Linked DNA regions of Homo sapiens: region 2 is linked to region 1. Evidence: promoter capture Hi-C in 16 types of primary human blood cells and fetal thymus (Javierre and others, 2016). All regions are on one chromosome and are shown on one strand. The core of a region is centred on a gene start or on the middle of the fragment in contact, and the rest is flanking DNA. Distances in the headings are between cores, read along the strand shown.

Region 1 (2,700 bases), core at 145-2,644:
TCCCTAAGCAAATGCCTGCAGGGACCAGGCAGTTAATACAGCAAACTTCAGAGGCTCATCTGCTTTAGCCAGTTCTTGCCATGGTATGGTGGAATCATTGTTGCCACATCTGATTTCTCAAGAGAAGCTTTAAAATCCAATTTGTATGTGTGTATGTATGAGTATGTACATGAGAAAGCTTTCAGTTTTAAAATGTTGGCTCAGATTTTTAAAAAGCAGACCAAAGACTTATATTCCACCTCTGCTCTAGACTTAGAGAATCTGTTCAGGATAAAGCTTAAAGAAAAGATGACAATGGAAAAGAGTCATTGGTCAAGTATTAAGTACTGACACTTAGGGTTTCCTGAATATAGTAGTGAGTGCTACTTTAGAAGAGATTCCCTCTAGTTCAAATGCAGTTACAATCTCCAAATACATGCTAGCAACTCACGATTTAAATTCTCTTTGACATAATTTGTATGGTTCAATCTCCCTCATCCTGCTTTTCTTCTTTTTCTTTCTTTCCTTTCCTTTCTTCCTTTCCTTCTCTTTCCCCTCCCCTCCCCTCTTTTTGTTTTTAACAGATGGGGTTTTACTATGTTGCCCAAGCTGGAGTGCAGTGGCAATTCAGAGTGCAGTGGCAATTCACAGTGTGATCATAGCTCACTGCAATCTTGAATTCCTGGCCTGAAGCTATCCTCCAGCCGTAGCCTCCCAAGTAGGTGGGAATACAGGCATGCACCACTGTGCTCAGCTCTGCCCTCCCTTTTTAAAGGTCAGACTGAAGTTTCAGTTTTCTGTATCCATAGAGCTGACTTTGCTCAGGAAATTTACAACTTACCTAATTTGAACGCAGCTGGCCAAGTCTGTATTTCCCTCCAGGAATGTGCACAGTTGTGTTCAGACCGTTTAGCAGGTTGGGGTGTGGAGGAAGACAGATGAATAGTAGGGGCTTTACTCCAGCCTCTAGCTGGGGATTTTCTAAGATACTGTCTTCAGAAAAGGAAACATAGCTCGAAGTTGTACCTACATGGAAGGACCTCATCCTCCAGGTGGCAAAAATTTGTAGTATGCCTGTTAGAATGAGGTTCCTTCCTGAAACTTCTGGGAGATCTAGAATTTAAAGCTATGTCATTCTCTTGTAGGTAATCAGAAATCAATTGGAAATTCCTGCTTGAAGAGATAGATATTCTTGCCCCACCTCAATCCTTCCAGCACAGATTTGGGAGATACCCCCCTTTCCAGTGAAGGCCTAAGTGTCCAGTGCCCCCACTCACCTTCTGAGGCATGTAGGGCCGCACAGACAGCCAAGGCCACGATGGCGAGTCCTCTCTGCTGCATTCCTGCCTGCCCTACTGGCACTGACAGCAACACAAGTGAGGCTGTTCGATCAGGAAATGAGGCTAAAGGTGTCCTTGGGCACAGAGAAAGTGCAGAGGAAAAGTAAGCCAGGTGGCCCCGCCCTGGGAGGTGTTCAGGGTATCTATTTCTCATGTTTCTTTCCTTAAGACCAGGCTCCTCCTCGACTTATTAAGCTCCTAACTTGTGTTCATCCTGCCTGGGGGTCAGGGGATGTCAATGGAGATCTGGCAGCTGGCAGGGTCACTGTGAGGTGGGGTGTGCATCAGAATCATTTGGGGAACATTAAAAAAAATCAATCTAAATGACTCTCCCCTTTCCCTGATTTGTAAACCAGAACTCCCAGGTAGGAGACCAGTCATTTGAATTTTGTAAAAGCTCTATAGGTGATTCTGATGGACACTTATGTTGAGACCCATTGCATAATCAGTTTTTAAGTAGCTTATGGAAACCATGAGTTTCTGGGGACAAGGGTGACAAGTCATAAAAAATGTATCTTTGTGGAAAGATATGGAAGTATTAAACCCCACTTTAGTCTTGGTTCACAGCCAAATTGTTTCCAGTGAAGCTTTTTACAATAGCTTATTTAGGAGAAAGACAGGAAGGGGGGCAATGCCTTGTAGAAAAGAGCCCAAGAGCAGGTGTGAAGAGGCATGAGCGCTAGTGCAGCTTTGCTGCCAATCAGCTTTGTGAATAAAAGCATGGGGTAGCATGAAGATAATTGGATTCTAATTGTTCCTCATCTACTAATAAGTTGTATAACCTCAGGCAACGTACTTAACTTTGCTGTAAATAACAAGTCAGACTAGATGACCTCCAAAGTCATGCCATGCTTCCTCTAGAACTGTGTTGTCCTATGTGGTAGCCGCTAGCCCACATGTGGCTCTTGAGCACTTGAAATATGAGTAGTCCAAACTCAGATGTACTATGGGTATAAAATTCACACTGGATTTCAAAGACTGGGTACAGAAAAAAATATAAAATATCTTGTTAATAATGTTTATACTGTTTATTGATTACATGATAGTATTTTGGACTTTTTGGGTTAAATAAAATATATTATTAAAATTAATTTCACCCATTTCTTTTTATGTTTTCAAATTACTGCTGTGGTTTGAATATTTTTTTCTTCTCCAAAGCTCATGTTGAAAATTAATCCCTAATAGTGCTGGGAGATAGGGCCTAATGGACAATGTTTAGGTTATGATGGCTCCACCCTCATGAATGGATGAATGCTACTATAAAAAGGGCTTGTGGGAATGGGTTGGTACCTTCTGCTCTTCTGCCAGGTGAGTACACAATGCTCCTTCTCTCCAAAAGATGCAGCAAAGTGGCATCATCTTGGAAATAGAAACTGAAATC
Region 2 (2,700 bases), core at 139-2,638, 260 kb before region 1:
ACTCTGGAAGAGGACAGGCTCTGTTTTCCAAAGTCCTTTGCTGTACAGACAACTTTGAAAAGATAGTCCAAAATAAAAGGCTCTCAATGTCTTTGTTTATAAGACATGCAGAAACATTATGAGTATCCATGGAGAGTTGTCTTGTTCCATATCCTTGTTTCTGTATTATCCTGGCTGGTACTGAATTTTCCCCATAAGTACAGCACTTCTTTAGCCGCTCTGATTAATCTGACCGTAGGGACCAGGACCTGGCTGGGTGCGGTGGCTCATGCCTGTAATCCCAGCACTTTGGGAGGCCGAGGCGGGCGGATCATCTGAGGTCAGGAGTTCGAGACCAGCCTGGCTAACGTGGTGGAACCCCATTTCTACTAAAAATACAAAAAAATTAGCTGGGCACGGTGACACATGCCTGTAATCCCAGCTACTCAGGAGGCTGAGGCAGGAGAATTGCTGAGGCTGCAGTGAACTGAGATCGCGCCATTGCACTCTGGCTTGGGCAACAAGAGTGAAACTCTGTCCCAAAAACAAACAAAAAACACAGGGACCAGGACCTAATCCATTCAGTTTTTCTCCTACTGGATTTATTTAAGGATTTATTGAAGTCAACAGAACTTCAAGCAGCAGGATTTGGGCACCCTGCCGTGTTGACCTTAATCATGCACCCACCACACTAAGGTTCATTCTGGACTCAGCCAACTGAACAAATCCCTAGAAAAACAGGTGACTTTCTTTTTCGGTTTCTGTATTGACTTTTCCACTTAGCCCTGGGCATTAGTCTAAGTATAGCAAGATGCTTTACAATTATACAGGCTCCACATTGTCCCATAGGGAGGATGTCTACTAGGGCAAGTTTTTCATTCATAATAAACCTGGCCCCAGTGGCTTGAAGCTGACATAAATGCCTTCCAGAGCCCAAGTGATATCAGTGAACATATCAGCTTAAGTCATGCACAATGTTGTACCACTTTTTTAATTGGATTACTCCTATTAGGGAAAACTGCCCACGGGATGTGCATAAATAAGTCAGTTATTATTCTAGGAAGCATCCCTTTGAGAATTTCTAACCAAGAGTATCCTTAAATGAGACCTCCACAGTCACCCGAGGGCTGCTTGATCTTCCTTAAACACTTGATGGTCTCTTATAACCACCTCTTAGGTGTAAGTCGTCATTTTGTTTCGTTTTGTTTTGTTTTTTTGAGACGGAGTCTCACTCTGTGCCCAGGCTGGAGTGCAGTGACGCAATCTCAGTTCGCTGCAACCTCTGCCTTCTGGGCTCAAGCAATACTCCTGCCTCAGCCTCCCTAGTAGCTGGGATTACAGGCACCTGCCACCTCACCCTGCTAATTTTTGTATTTTTGGCAGAAATGAGGTTTCTCCATGTTGGCCAGACGGGTCTCCAACTCCCGACCTCAAGTAACACACCTGCCTCGGAGTCCCAAAGTGCTGGGATTACAGGGACGAGCCACCGCGCCTTGCCAGTCATCGTATTTTTGTGAGGCAAGGAAATTAGTACCTGGCTTCCACACAAGAAGCACAGTCCCAGGGGCACATAGGAACCCTGAAAGGAAAGTACTATTTGCAATTGTTCGTGCCTCCAAAGTAGGCACGAACCTGCATCAGTGTAGAGGCACAGATTGATATAGCCTCCAATGTAGTCTCCTTTCCCAGTTCAATTAGAATGATTCAGTCTAGTTCTAGTTTTTGGAGAGACTGAGGACAGGACAGTCAGTTGACTTCTTTCCTATTTATTTATTTATTTATTTATTGAGATGGAGTCCCGCTCTGTCGCCCAGGCTGGAGTGCAGTGACATGATCTTGGCTCACTGCCTCTACCTCCCAGGTTCAAGTGATTCTCCTGCCTCAGATTCCCCGGTAGCTGGGACTACAGGCACGTGCCACTAGGTTGAGCTAACTTTTGTGTTTTTAGTGGAGACGGAGTTTCACCACGTTGGCCAGGCTGGTCTCGAACTCCCGACCTCAAGTGATCCGCCTGCTTCAGCATCCCAAAGTGCTGGGATTACAGGTGTGAGCCACCACTCCCAGCCGAGTCTGTCCTATTTATCACAAGCTCCTGAATGCCAGCTGACTTGAGTAGTAACTGTCCACCTCATGGACTGATCTCAGCTATGAGAATGGTAGTGGAGCATGGTGTTTTGCCTGCGACACACAGGAGTCATCCCCAGCTGTTTTTAGAAGATATGTTGGTAAAGTTAAGGGAAACCACTTGGCAGGGAATGGCAAACACAGCAGTCAGTTTAAAAATGCTTATAGCCATTGGAGAGACCTGCAACTGAGCATTTTTCTTAATTTGAAAGGTTCTAGGGGCAGTTCTGAAAGACAAAGGTGGTTTGTTTTGTTTTGTTTTTGGAGACAGGGTCTCACTGTGTCACCCAGGCTGGAGTGCAGTGGTGCAATCACAGCTCACTGCAGCTGTAACTTTCCAGGCTCAGATGATCCTCCCACCTCAGCCTCCCAAAGGAGCTGAGACTGTAGACATGTGCCACCATGCCCAGCTAATCTTTTATAATTTTTTGTGGAGATGGGGTCTTACTATGTTCTCCAGGCTGTTCTTAAACTCCCGGACTCAAGCGATCCTCCCGCCTCAGCCTCCCAAAGTGCTGGTATTATAGGTGTGAGCCACCACACCCAGCTTGACAAAGATTATTGTCCCTCCCTGCCCTATATCTTCTGGAGTCGTAA

What was found. Contacts are between HindIII fragments. The CHiCAGO score rates a contact against its expected background, and 5 or more counts as called.
Region 2: a contact is called between a fragment that was not itself captured here and the fragment with the promoter of CCL28 in region 1, in 4 of 17 cell types (erythroblasts, M1 macrophages, M2 macrophages and 1 more). The highest score is 8.4, in erythroblasts.

Annotation. Positions count from the first base shown.
Region 1 is chr5:43,410,997-43,413,696 of GRCh38, forward strand. It overlaps CCL28 (C-C motif chemokine ligand 28), which reads right to left and starts at 1,395. Exons shown (of 3, transcript NM_148672.3): 1 at 1,257-1,395. The coding sequence starts at 1,320. The HindIII fragment of the contact is 1,630 bases long and covers 275-1,904 here.
Region 2 is chr5:43,150,258-43,152,957 of GRCh38, forward strand. All of the region lies in intron 4 of ZNF131 (zinc finger protein 131), which reads left to right. Among named protein-coding and RNA genes, the nearest start is that of ZNF131, 31 kb to the left of the region's middle. The HindIII fragment of the contact is 9,324 bases long and covers 1-2,700 here.